Linked DNA regions of Homo sapiens: regions 1 and 2 are each linked to region 3. Evidence: promoter capture Hi-C in 16 types of primary human blood cells and fetal thymus (Javierre and others, 2016). All regions are on one chromosome and are shown on one strand. The core of a region is centred on a gene start or on the middle of the fragment in contact, and the rest is flanking DNA. Distances in the headings are between cores, read along the strand shown.

Region 1 (4,819 bases), core at 78-2,577, 560 kb before region 3:
ATATCATATTTTATTTTATTTATTTATTTGAGACATAGTCTTGCTCTGTCACCCAGGGTGGAATGCAATGGCGCATCTGGGCTCACTGCAACCTCCGCCTCAACCTCCTGAGTAGCTGGGACTACAGGCGCCCGCCACCACACCCGGCTAATTATTGTATTTTTAGTAGAGACGGGCTTTCATCATGTTCGCCAGGCTGGTCTCGAACTCCTGATCTCAGGTGATCCGCTCCCCTCGGCTTCCCAAAGTGCTGGGATTACAGGCGTAAGCCACCATGCCCGGCCCCGTATGATATTTTAAATAACACACTCAACCACGCTCATCTGGGCTCAGGAAGAAGCCGAGTCACAAAGTTATTAGTTTCCCAAGATTCTTGGAATCTCTTATTCGGTACAAATGGAACCAAAAGACGCCAAACCGAAGTATTTTACTGAGTTACACTGAGGCAACGTAAATAAACTCAATCTATTGAATTACACCAAAAACAAAATTGTAATCAATTAAGACAACTTAGGTCTCAAGGCTAAGGCAACACCACCTCGAAATTCTCTCCTGAAAACGCTAAATCTCGGTGTGGCTGTTTAGGAAAGAACATCCTGTGGAAATAAAGTCATGATGTCCTGGACTACAGATCCCTCTCCCATCTGCTCCTTAGCTGTTCTACTAGGAAGAAGAAAATCTATTGCGTAGAGTTGTCATTATCGGCTAAACTCAGTGCTAGCTTTAAATGGATTGTCTTATTCAATCTTGACACTTGGAAATAGGCATCCTCACGTCCCTTTGCAGATGAAGAAACTGAAGTCGAGAGAGGTTTAAAAACTGGCCCAAGGACTCAACACTGTTTCTAATTGACACTCAAATCCTTGCTCGGACCTGAACGCACAAAGTGCCTCGGAGAAGATGTGAAGCGCTGTGTGCAACAGTGAGGAATTCGCTAACCAGCCCTGGACTTCCGTTTCCTCGCCATCAAGAGGTGTCTCGGCGCCAAAGCGATCAGCGCTGCCACCCCCAGCTGGACGTCTGCAGCCAGCGCAGCGGGAGGAGCCCCCTCGGGCACCGGCAGGACCGAGCGGGGGGTTTGGCTGGAGTCCAGCGCCCAGGCCCGACCCCCGCGCCTCAGCCCCCGCAGGCGCGACGATGAGAAACGCCGTGGGAGAAAGAAACAAAGCCCGAACCGTGCGCCTCCGTGACCCAAGGCAAAGGCGGCAGGACTACCAGCCCAAGGCCGCGTTTCCCAGGAAACTGGACCAAACTCAGCTCACCTCCGGCCGGATTCGCGGGCTGGCACCTCCCCTTCACTCTGTGCCTCAGTCGCCATCTTCGTCAGCAAACTTCTTTCACCGCCCCACCTTACGTCCCGCCCCCACATATTTGGATTGGCTAATATGTTTTCACCTCTTCCGTGCGATTGGATGACTCGACCGCCCCTCCTCAACCTGAACCGTTTAATATATTATTGGTCTATTCAAATGACTAACCGTCATTGGTCGTTCCCAGCCCTGGCGGAAAAAGAGGGAGGGGCGGGGAAGAAGACCCAGCCCCGAGGCCTGCCGGGAGTTGTAGTTTCTCATTTTGATGAACCCTTCCGATTCCACAGACCTTTAGGTTCAAGTCAGAAATCACCAGCCTATGCTCAAATTTTGTCCTGATATGTAAATCAGGGAATTATAGAACTGTCAACTTTGAAAGTGACTCATCACTTTCTAAAATGCAAGACTCCGTACCCTATATCTCAGCATCACACAATATACCCAGATAACAAACCAACTCATGTACCCCCTAAATTTAAAATAAAAGTTGAAAATAAATAATTTTTTTTTACAATTTTTTTAATTTTTTTTTTCTGTTGAGACAGGGTTTCACCATGTTGCCCAGGCTGGTCTCGAACCCCTGAGCTCAAGCAATCCTCCTATGTCAGCCTCCCAAAGTGCTGGGATTACAGGCATGAGGCACTGCACCCAGCCATAAATTAATTCATTTAATTTAATGTAATTTAATGCAAGACTCGTTCTCTGTCTTGACCCAGAGATAAATCCCTCAAGTGCAGGCAGGGAGTGGCAACCTAGAAGTACTTGCTTTTAAACGTATAGTTCAAAGCCTTCTTTCTTCAGATACTCAGCATAGCCCTAGCCATAGGTCATTTCTTTCTTCCTTTATTTCTTTCTTTTTTTTTTTTTTTTGAGATAAGGTCTCCCTCTGTCTCCCATGCTGGAGCACAGTACAATATTGCAGCATACCAACACACAGGGCAAATTTTTGTACTTTTTGTAGAGATGGGGTTTCACCCTGTTGGCCAGGCTGGAGTCGGTCATTTCTGCTTCAATACATTCACTCCCTTCCAACTTCCCAGAGAACCCACAGAGTTTGCCTTGTGATATGAACCATGGAACCAAAAGCTGCATGACTTTGTCCCAAACTAAACTTTAATCCTCAATGGTAGGAATAACCATAATTATCCTTGTCCTCCCTGCGGCACACACTTCTCCTAGGGATTAACTGAGGCAACATATGTGAGAACATTGTAAATTTTGAGCATTGTTGTTTTTTGTTTTTCCATATTGTTTTCCTATGCTGGACTTTTCTCGGGAATTTCTGTATTGATCCTTCTGATATCCTGCCACCTGGGGCTCTCCCTGCACTCTGCCTCCTTTTTACTAAACTGTACTGCACATGCTTCACTTTCTGAACTGTCTTAGGGCTTTTGCACATGTTGCTTTTTCTGGCTCGTCCATTTTTCCACTTTTTTGGCTTTCAGGTCGAAGCTTAAATGTCACTGGCTCAAAGATCTTCCATGACCCCCATTGTATAAATCAATTCCCTCAGTAAACTTTCACAAAGAACTCTGTACTATTCTTTCACAGTTCATATCACAACTCACAATTACATAGTCATTTGTGTGACTATTTATTTCATGTGAGGGTTCCCAGCTAGGCTTCCTGCCACAAGTGGGCAGAGACTATATTTATTTTGCTCCCCACAGTTTCTGGCACATAATGGCTGTCCAATAAATATTTTTGAAAAATATAAGCAAGTCCTCAAACTATTATATCCAAATAAAAAATCAAATCATATACTCTAATAGATTTTTTTCAATTGATGAATTAATACTAAAAGTTTGATAAGGGCTAGGCACAGTGGCCTACACCCATAATCCCATCACTTTTGGAGGCTGAGGCAGGAGGATCACCTGGGCCCAGGAGTTCAAGGTTAAAGTGAGCTATGATTGTGCCACTGAACTCCAGGCTGTGCGACAGAATGAGACCCTTTCTCTAAAAAAGAAAATAAAAGTTTGATAAATGTGTCCAAATAAAATTGCATTTAGTTTGATGTTTTTTATGTTTTTTGTTTGAAACAGAGTCTCACTCTGTTGCCTAGGATGGAGTGTAGTGGCATGGTCTCCACTCACTGCAACCTCTGCCTCCCGAGTTCAAGCAATTCTCCAGCCTCAGACACTCAAGTAGCTGGGATTACAGGTGTGTGCCACCACATCTGGCTAATTTTTGTATTTGAGTAGAGATGGGTTTTGCCACGTTGGCCAGACTGGTCTCGAACTCCTGAACTCAAGTGATCTACCCACCTAGGCTTCCCAAAGTGCTGGGACTACAGGTGTGAGCCACCATGCCCAGTCTTATTTAGTTTGATGTTTAACAAATCATGTTTATTGAGCAAATACATGGAAAGAAACATAAAATTTAGCAAACGTATCAGTGAAATTTTTCATTGAACCTCAGACAGCCTTAGAAAATCCAGGCTGGGATCACTTGAGCCCAGGAGATTGAGACTACAGCAAGCCATGTTCATGCCACTGCACTCCACCCTGACAGAGCAAGACCCTGTCTCAAAAAAACAAAAAACAAAAAACAAAAAAAGAAAAAGAAGCCAAGTGTGATGGCTCACGCCTGTAATCCCAGCACTTTGGGAGGTCGAGGCAGGTAGATCACTTGAGGTCAGGAGTTCAAGACCAGCCTGACCAAAATGGTGAAATCCCATCTCTACTAAAAATACAAAAAAATAGCCGGGCATGGTGGCACACACCTGTAATCCCAGCTACTCAGGAGGCTGAGGCAGGAGAATCGCTTGAAACCAGGAAGTGGAGGTTACAGTGAGCCAAGATCATGTGCCACTGCACTCCAGCCTCGGCAACAGAGTGAGACTGTCTCAAAAAGAAAAGAAAAGAGAAAAAAAGGCCAGGCGAGGTGGCTCGCACCTGTAATCTCAGCACTTTGGGAGGCTGAGGCGGGTGGATCACCCGAGGTCAGGAGTTCCAGACTAGCCTGGCAACATGGTGAAACCCTGTCTCTACTAAAAATACAAAAATTAGCCGGGCGTGTTGCCACACACCTATAATCCCAGCTACTCGGGAGGCTGATGGAGGAGAATCACTTGAACCCAGGAGATGGAGGTTGCAGCGAGCCGAGATCGTGCAACTACACTCCAGCCTGGGCAATAGGTTGAGGCTATGTCTCAAAAAAAAAAAAAAAGAAAGAAAGAAAAGAAAATCCAGGTTGTGTTAATTGCTATATATACAAAGCAAGGAACCCAAGGCTCAAATTCTGCCCTTCCCTCAAAATAAGAACTAGTTTTGTTTCTAGCCCCATGACACCCAGCACATGGACTGATGGATTGAATGAAATTGATGCTTTCACAAAAGAAAAACTGTTCAAAACTTTAAAGTATTACCACTGCAACTAGGAGGAACGCCACAAAACTATATTTCTGGTTCATTTTTTTTAATGAAGAATCGCACCTTTTTTTTTTTTTTGAGACAGAGTCTCACTCTGTCACCCAGGCAAGAGTGCAGTGGCATGATCTCGGATCA
Region 2 (4,231 bases), core at 1,589-4,088, 570 kb after region 3:
CTTCAGCTGCGGGCTCTGCTAATCCCCAGACCTGCCTCAGGGGCCCCATAGCAGGCGCCTGGGCCCTTGAGGAGCTGCTCTGGGCGTGGGCTCTGCAGCTGCCTGCATCAGGCAGTGTTGGTTGGGTGGATGTGCTGACCTCTGGGAGACACCTCCCGCCCTCAGAATGCTCGTCACCAGGTATGGGGCCAGGAATCTCCATTTTAACAAGCCCCCTCAGTCACTCTCAGGCACATTTAGTCAAATGACTAAATGAGATTCATCTTCAAGGTGGCGGCCAGGTGCCAGTGTGCCTTCAGGGACTCAGAGGTAACCCTTGTCTCAGAAGATGCCGTTCTGTTCCTCACTGAGGCCCAAGATGCCTTTAAACCAGGCTTTATGGTATGTTTAGCAACTAAAGAAATCATGTCAAGGAAAAGCTCACACACTGAGACTCACTCGCACTTGTAGGCAAGTCACCAAGGCAGCTGGTGACCTAAAGTCAACCTTCCCCATTAGGAGACAGCAGGGTGAGCTGTGGCTGAGCACGGAAGGAGGCAGGGGGCTTCTCTGAGGCTAAGTGAGGTGCTGGAGATGGCTCCCACCAGCCCGGGGAGTTTGTGAGCCGGCTGTCAAACAGCCATTGATATAAACTAAATTATATAAGCTTACAATTAAATAAATTAAAAACAAAGGTAATAAATACTCAAAACACACTACCTCCTATTTGTTTTACTACATTTGACTGTTGCCCATGCCCTGGCAGTCACTGGCCTCTATGTACATATCTGCATGGTGGACACACTATACAATGATGTGCTACTGGGTATCTCTCCTAAATCACATTGAGCAACCTCATCTTGGTAACAGAAAAGGCTATGGTGGGAGTATTTACACCACTGTCATCAGCAAATATTACACAGAAGGGCTGAATTTATTTTTTGTGGTCAGGCTTAAGAAAGTGATGGGAAAATGCTAATAATGCAGATTAAACCTAACAGTGTTAGCTGTTATAGCATGAATAAATAGCACAAAAATTGAAGGAAATATTCTAGTATTAGAACAATATTATCTTATTTGAGTAACATCATTCCTGTCATTTAAAGAAGGAGGCCGGGCGCAGTGGCTCACACCTGTAATCCCAGCCCTTTGGGAGGCTGAGGCAGGTGGATCACAAGGCCAGGAGTTTGAGATCAGCCTCGCCAACATGGTGAAACCCCGTCTCTACTAAAAATACAAAAATTAGCCGGGCGTGGTGGTGGGCGCCTGTAGTCCCAGCTACTCGGGAGGCTGAGGCAAGAGAATCGCTTGAACCCAGGAGGCGGAGGTTGCAGTGAGCCGAGATTGCGCCGCTGCACTCCAGCCTGGGCAACAGAGCAAGACTCCATCTCAATAAATGAATAAATAAATAAAATAAAAATAAATTTTAAAAAATAAAGGAGTAAGGTTGGGACATAAATCTTTGTTGTTTCATTTGTTTCACGATCATCCTACTCTTTACAGAAAATATGGAGCACCGTTCTCTTTGGAGCTACCCTCATTTGTCATTTGCAACTATAGGTTGGCTACTGAGTTTGGCAAAAATCAAAGAAAGCCTTTGGTAAGAATCACTCGGGTAGACTGCATTTAAATTGAGAGTATTGTATCTTTATTTGTAAAATTGTGTGCAGTGTATCTTTTATTTCAATATTTAAAATAAGCATGTGTATATGTGTATATATATGTACGTAACACATATACATATATATACACATATATGTGTGTATATATACATATATATACATGTACACACACACATACATCACACATTTTTCCCTGGAGAGGTGAGTGTTGAGTATCTACCAGCTCGCAACTGCTCTAGTACATATGAAAATGAAGGCATGCCCTCAAAGCTGCATGTTGAGTGCCGTCTGCTTTCGGTCCCGTCATTATCTCTGTATAGACCCAGTTGGCAATCATGCATTTGGGGCCCTCTGCAAGTGTGAAAGGAAGGCACTAAGGAAAGACCACCTGGTCCTGGGCCTGCCTCTTCCCCTAGCACCCAGTAGACTGTGATACTCTGAGCCCAGGGGTTGGCAAAGTGTGGCAGATCACTGCAGATCCCCAAATGTCCCAGAGCTGCAAGGCAATGGGGTCCATCTCCCTCTGCAGACACGCAGTAGGAACTCTGGGACTCAGTTCTGTTTTATCCTAACTGGCCTTTATGAAATGACTGCAGTTTCTTGTGACGAGGGGTGGCCTCAGTGGTAAGGTAGTGGTGACCAGAACTCAGGGCACTGAGGGGGCGGGGTGCTGGATTTCACTTGTCTGTTGGCCCAGGGCTCTTTCCAACCCTTACAAACCATAGGCTGAGAATGTGGTGGAAACTAGGTCACTTTGCAAGAGATATAGGGAAACCCCTGAGCTCACCTAGTCTTCCTGTCATTCTCCATGGGAAGATCCAAGCCCAGAGAAGGCAAGCATTTGCCCCAGGCCACACAGCAGAGCCAGCACCGGAATCCCAGGTGCCTGCCTGCCAGATGGAAGGGCTTTCCATTGCAGCCCCTGCTAGCGTATAAACTTCTGGCTGGGTTATGCCAGAGGAGAGAGCAGTGGGGCTTGGCTCCCCCTCCCCCTCCCCACCAAGCTCTGAGCAGGGCTGTCTTCCCGCCCCTCAGCTCTGGCCCGGCCTGCTTTACCACTTTACCTGCTCCTATCACCACCGCATCATACTCAGGCTTCAGACCTCCCCTGGCTTCCGTGTTATCTCGTCTCCACGCCGGGAAGGGAGAGGCGGCCACAGCCTTGCAGAGACCTCGGCCACTTGCAGCCATTTCTGCCCCAGGCTGGGCCTTGCTAGGCAGGGAGTTTGCTAGCGATTGGCTTTTGTGCTGCCCTAGGCACGGGGTGGAGCAGGGAGGAAGCAGGAAGAGGAGGAGCTGCAGTCCCCCTCCAGGCCCCCTCCACCATGCATTCTTGGCCACAGGCCAGCCTCCTGCTGCCCTGGGGCTGTGCTGGGCCGTCGGGAGTGTTGCCTATTAACCAGGCGGTGTCACCTCCAGGATGCAGGGGATAATGGCAAAACTGACAATCCACTGGGGTTCCTATGTCAGGCTGGCATTGTGCTGAACCCTGTAGGCAAAACTCCCCATTTTACAGATGAGGGCGCTGAGGCTGCGGGGTTAGGGAATGAGTGGTGGAGGCAGAGTGGAGCTCGAAAGGGCCCTCTCCTCCCCTGTGCATCTACCTTCTCAGTCAGAACTGAAACGCCTGGGATGGCAAGTGCTCGTGTCAGACTCTGCTCCAACTCCATGCTGAGTCTGCCAGTGCAGAGTGGTGATGCCTCTACGCCCACAGGAGGCGCCCAGGGCGGCCATCTAGCGTCACCACGACCAGGGCCTTCAGACACCGCAGAGGCAGCTGTGTCTGTCGCTGAGGAGCACTGGAGTCCTCTCCTAAATGCTCAAACACAAACCCACAACGAGGGCTTAGGGGCAAGTTCGCTGTCTGTAATTCTCTGGTGTTTTAGTTTTGAAGGCCTGGCCAGTTCTCCTCTTTTGGCACCTTGCCCATTTTCCAAGAATCCCCAAGGATTCGAGGTCACATCTGTAAATACCTCCAGCTAAAGTTCTTTCTGACCCTCCCTTAGGCCTGCCTTGAATTAGGAGCCCCTTTGTTCTCTGCCCATTACTTAGCAGAGTGTTCCCCTAGGAGGAAAAAACCCCTTGGAGCGGAGAGTTCCTGCACTGCTCTGATATCGCAGTGTGACGGAAACCTGCTATTGGTAACGAATCTCAGAACTGGGAGAGTATGTGGAGATGATCCTAAGAGGGGGTTCCGAGGACCCCTCCACACACCATGGACAGTTACCCCGCATGTGAGCATCTCTGCTAAGATCTGATTCAGGATGTTCACTCCTGTGTTATTTATTATATAGAAAGATCAAGGGGACTGGTTAAACTAGACATATCACATCCAGCCGCTGCTAAAAACTAAAGGGAAATAGTAGGTGACAAAAGCAGGGGTCCTGAACAGTGGTGGGCTCAGGGGATTGGAGTTTTTTCCTTTATGTTTTTCTGTATTTTCCACAATCCACGCTTTTCATTGCCATTCCATCAGATGATGTTAAGGAGGAACACAGATCCAGTCACCTGAGGGGATACTTCCTCACTGCCACCTTCTCAGGGTTTAGACCAACATGTGGGTTCTAGTTCCCCCAGCCCCAAAGCTGTTCCCTGCAAGGAAGAGATCAGTCTTTGAGCAAATTTTGGCT
Region 3 (4,748 bases), core at 1,173-3,672:
ACAAAAATTAGCTGGGTATGGTGGTGCGTGCCTGTAATCCCAGCTACTTGGGAGGCTGAAAATCACTTGAACCCAGGAGGCAGAGGTTGTAGTGAGCTGAGATGGTGCCACTGCATTCCAGCCTGGGTGATAGAGCAAGACCCTATCTCAATAAAATAAAATAAAATAAAGCATGAGAATGGTGTTGTGCCTAGTTGGGATAACGCTTTTCTTCTTGGGAGATGCATGGTGAATTGAAGTACTTACAGATAAAATCTCATTGAAGTACTTACAGATAAAACCTCACGATGTCTGTCACCTTATTATTATTATTATTATTATTATTTTTGAGACGGAGTCTCGCTCTGTCACCCAGGCTGGAGTGCAGTGGCGCAATCTCGGCTCACTGCAAGCTCTGCCTCCTGGGTTCATGCCATTCTCCTGCCTCAGCCTCCCCAGTAGCTGGGGAGTAGCTCCCCAGGTGCCCACCACCACGCCCGGCTAATTTTTCTGTATTTTTTAGTGGAGACGGGGTTTCACCGTATTAGCCAGGATGGTCTCAATCTCCTGACCTCATGATCCGCCCACCTCGGCCTCCCAAAGTACTGGGATTACAGGCGTGAGCCACCGCGCCCGGCCACGATATCTGTCACCTTCTGATAATCTAGGCAAATATAGCTCTGTTTTCATATCTATCAATAAAGCAAATGTGGCAAAAAGCAATTGTTGGAGCTAGGTAGATGGCATAGTTTATTGTACTATTCTTTCAACATTTTGGTATGTTTAAAAATGTCAAAATAAAAGGTTGGAGAAAAAACAAAAGGTCCTAGAAACAGTCTAGTGAAATCCAACACTCACATTTTACAGAAAGAGAACCATAAGCTCAGAAAACAAGACAGTTGCTCGAGGTTATACAGCTGGAAAAGCCTGGGCCAGGTCTCTTGGCCGCCAGGTTCTCCCTGTGTGTGGGCTTCAGACTCTCAGGCAGCAGTGAGCTGCAGAGGAGCACACCCCACCACCCCTCAAAGAGACCAAGGGGTATTATGGGTATGTAAAAAGGCACTTGTGTTGGTGTTTCCTTTTTTTTATGTCTATTTTATTTATTTATTTATTTATTTATTTTTTGAGACAGAGTTTCGCTCTTGTCGCCCAGGCTGGAGTGCAATGGTGTGATCTCAGTTCACTGTAACCTTTGCCTCCCGGGTTCAAGCAATTCTCCTGCTTCAGCCTCCTGAGTACCTGGGACTACAGGCGGGTGCCACCATGCCTGGCTAATTTTTTTTTGTATTTTTGGTGGAGATGGGGTTTCAGCATGTTGGCCAGGCTGGTCTTGAACTTCTGCCCTCAGGTGATCCACCCGTCTCGGCCTCCCAAAGTGCTGGGATTACAGGTATGAGCCACTGCTTCCGGCCTTATTTTTATTTTTTTAAGAGACAGGCTCTTGCTCTATTGCCCAGGCTGGAGTACAGTGGCACAATCATGGCTAGCTGCAGCCTTGAACTCTTGGATTCAAGTGATTCTCCTGCCTTAGCCTTCTGAGTAGCTGGGACCACAGGCACACATCACAACGCCCGGCTAATGTTTTCATTTTTTGTGCAGACAGGGTCTTGCCCAGGCTGGTCTTGAACTCCTGGGCTCAAGCAATCCTCCCACCTCAGCCTCCCAAAGTGTTGGGATTACAGGTGTGAGCCACTGCACCTGGTCTCCTTTTTATTAAACAAATAGATCATTTAGTTGGAATTTATGATGTCAAAAGTGCGAAGGTGGCACCAGAGCCAGACCTGCCATCCTTGGAGAGTGAGCATACCGGTTTGGCACCATCTGCTTGTGGTTTTTGAGTGGTGGTGGTAGTGGTGGTGCGTGTATGTAAACTCGGGTTGCAGAGGAGAGAGGGAAGAGTAAAGGGTGGGGACCAGGTCCAGGAAGAGCAGCAAGGAGAGACTGGCTTCAATTCTGGAGCTGCCTGAAAGAAGGGACCCCAGGCTATGGCTGAGAACGAAATGTGGGCACGTATTTAAAGAAAGGAAATGATTCTCTGCGGTCGGCAGGATCTTTGTCTAGCTAGTGGGGTTCCAGGAAGTGCAAAGGAGAGGGGAAAAGAGGGGCCGTCCGTGCAAGCCTGACTGTGTGTATATGGGGGGGGGGCACACAGAGAGGAAAAGGGAGAGAAAGAAAAGAAATTATTCTAAAGAGGAAGCTGGGGGCGGGGCGAGGGAGGGGTAGAGCCGGGGCACTGGGGGTGGCTGGAAAGGTAGAGAGGCCTCACCTGCGGGCCTGCGAGCGGCTCGGGAGCGGTCAGCCTTGCAGGCTGAAGCGTCTTGCCCCGGAAAAATTCCTGCCCCACTGTCCTTCAGGCTGGATGTCCCGGGGGCCACGGAAGCGAGCGCAGAGCTCCGGGGCTCTCACGAGGGGGAGGGCAGGAAGGGGAGGCGGGGCCTCGCGCGGGGCGGTAGCCGAGCCTGTGGCCCGGGCGGGGCTCCTCTCCGGCGGCGCCGGAGTCTGGGGGCCGCGGCTTCCCCCTCCCGGCCAGCGGCGGCTCCTGGCCCCTCCTCCCCCGGCCGCCCCCATCCCCGCCGCCGCCGCCGCCAAAGCTAAACCCGGCCGTTGCCTGCAGGAGCCGCGGCAGCGGGCGATCGGGCCGTGAGGAGCCTCGGGCGCGGCCTCGCCTCCCGGGCCCGGCGCCTGCCTCAGCACAGCGGACAGCGCCGCGCCCCTTGCCTGGACCCAGCCGCCCGCCCGCCCCCGGCCCACCTGAGCCCGGGCCCGCGGCGCCCGCATCAGCACTGCGGACAGCGCCCCGGGCCCCAGCTCGCCGCCACCGCCGCCGCCCACCTGCTCCCGGGGTCAGCACCGCGGAGACCCCCCTCGCCCGGCCCCGCGACAGCCTCCGAGCGCCCCCGGATCATGGCCACCGAGGTAGGGGCGAGCGCCCCACCCGCAGGCAGTGCCCGATTGCCGCGGGACCAAATGCCCTAGGGGTGGGCTGGGCAGGAGTGGGAGGCGGGAGTTGGGGGTGGGATGGGGTGATTCCCCAGGTCAGGTCTGGAGGGAGGAGGTAGGGGCTTAGTGAGGGCTCATCTCCCCCTTGCGTGTCAATCTTCCCCTCGCCCCACCTGAGCCCCCAAGCTGTCCGCGACACTTGTTGGCATTAGCGCCAGGGTTGCTTCAGGGCCCCAGGCTGGGGTTTCCCCTTCCCTGGACTTCACAAGTCCTGAAACCGCTTTCCTAGAGGGTTGGAGACGCGTGTGTGTGCGTGTGTGAGGGGAGGGAAGGCGGCTGTCCGCTGTTGCTATGCAGTCAGCTTCTGAACCCAAAAGCTTGGCTAAGGGATGACAGACTTACCTCTACATCCGCATTTCCTTTGCGGGAGGGAGGGGACAAAGACATCCTCAGGCTGAGAACCCAAATGGTTGGTCTCCACTTTTGCATATCACCCTTCTTGCTTTTTTACCCCATTCGAGTTTTTTTTTTTTTTTTGTCCCAGGGTGTCCAGATTTCCCCTCCATCTGATGGGAGTTTCTGCCTTCTTCAAGGTGCACTGATAGGTGTGTCACCTTCAAGCACTTGAAGGCTGAACCACGGGGCCTGTTAGCTAAGGGCAGAATCTTGGTATAATGCTTGAGGTCGAGGATTCCCCCCTCTACCCCTAGGGATTGCCCTTTCCCCCCTCATTTCAGGAGGGAGATTGGGCTCTTTATGTTCCCACTTTATACATGATAAAGGTGATGTGTGGAAAACGAAAGGACTAATTTGCTACTCCACACAGCATGTCAGCAGCAGAGCGGAAAGTTTTTGCCTTTGAATTTTTGGAGCGAAACTCAGGACATCAGGGTCTCCCCAGTTCTGATGTTGACTTCCTTTGTGGTGTCTCCCCATTTCCAATCCAGCTGGCATACACTGGGGGAGAGCAGAGGCCTGTGAATGATTCAATGCAGTGCTTCTGGGCATCCTGGTGAGCAGTGTGACATTAATACCAAGTGTGGCTGTTGTTATTCCACTCAAGTTTCCACCACAGAACAAGGTGCTGTTGCTTGGCATTGCTTGGCATTCTGACAAGGCACAAGGTTAGCTAGGCGGAGAGTTGCCCCTCAGGACTTGGTGTGAGGGCAAGCCCTGGGCAGACCCTGGGAGCTTGGTTTCTAGAGTAGAGGAATGCAGAGTACTCACAAAGCACCAAAGACATGGAGGACAGCAGGAAGAACAAAGGGAGAAACCAAGGAGTTGGTTACCTTCCAGATAGGGCTGCCAGACTGCAGCAGAGGCTGCTGTGTTGGACAGAAAAGGGGAACTTCAGCTACATGGGCATGGCTGGGCCAGCAGCGTGGGCAGAGAAGGCAGCTGCCTCTGCGATGTGATCTGACAGATTCCAACAGGCCCATCTGTCCCAGGATGTCTGCCATGGCCCACAGATTCCAACCAGCAGGCTTCTATCTCTATGTCAAGACAGCGTTTCCAGGAGGCTGCTATGAGACATGTGTGACTCTCCCCTGGGAGGGGCTCTGCTCATAACGCCTCTGAAAATATTGCGCTTTCCTGTGTACAAAGCACTATCGCATAAGTGATCTCTTTCAAGCCTCAGAGCAGCCCTATGAAGTGGGTAAGGATGGTGTTATTATGCCCAATTAACAGATGAGACAACTAAGGTTCAGAAACTTGCCTGGTCCCTGTGAAGGAGCCAAAGAAGGCATCATTATCCCATTTTACAGATGATGGAACTGAAGTGCTGAGACTTATTCAGGAAAATATGGCTAAAAGGTGGCAGGGATGGG

Evidence for each region. Contacts are between HindIII fragments. The CHiCAGO score rates a contact against its expected background, and 5 or more counts as called.
Region 1: the fragment with the promoter of ARHGAP19 here is called in contact with the fragment with the promoter of GOLGA7B in region 3 in 6 of 17 cell types (non-activated CD4 T cells, activated CD4 T cells, total CD8 T cells and 3 more); the score reaches 9.3 in non-activated CD4 T cells.
Region 2: a contact is called between the fragment with the promoter of PYROXD2 here and the fragment with the promoter of GOLGA7B in region 3, in 3 of 17 cell types (total CD4 T cells, non-activated CD4 T cells and total CD8 T cells). The highest score is 7.5, in total CD4 T cells.

The regions. Positions count from the first base shown.
Region 1 is chr10:97,291,310-97,296,128 of GRCh38, forward strand. ARHGAP19 (Rho GTPase activating protein 19) reads right to left here and starts at 1,328. Exons shown (of 12, transcript NM_032900.6): 1 at 1,263-1,328. The coding sequence starts at 1,318. It overlaps ARHGAP19-SLIT1 (ARHGAP19-SLIT1 readthrough (NMD candidate)), which reads right to left and starts at 1,364. Exons shown (of 15, transcript NR_037909.1): 1 at 1,263-1,364. RefSeq lists enhancers at 140-898, 899-1,655 and a silencer at 1,000-1,049. The HindIII fragment of the contact is 8,887 bases long and covers 1-2,760 here.
Region 2 is chr10:98,412,344-98,416,574 of GRCh38, forward strand. It overlaps PYROXD2 (pyridine nucleotide-disulphide oxidoreductase domain 2), which reads right to left and starts at 2,839. Exons shown (of 16, transcript NM_032709.3): 1 at 2,666-2,839. The coding sequence starts at 2,792. It overlaps HPS1 (HPS1 biogenesis of lysosomal organelles complex 3 subunit 1), which reads right to left. Exons shown (of 20, transcript NM_000195.5): 20 at 3,855-4,231. The HindIII fragment of the contact is 3,850 bases long and covers 645-4,231 here.
Region 3 is chr10:97,847,421-97,852,168 of GRCh38, forward strand. GOLGA7B (golgin A7 family member B) reads left to right here and starts at 2,423. Exons shown (of 5, transcript NM_001010917.3): 1 at 2,423-2,895. The coding sequence starts at 2,884. GOLGA7B-DT (GOLGA7B divergent transcript) reads right to left here and starts at 2,378. Exons shown (of 3, transcript NR_108035.1): 1 at 2,246-2,378. The HindIII fragment of the contact is 7,033 bases long and covers 1-3,294 here.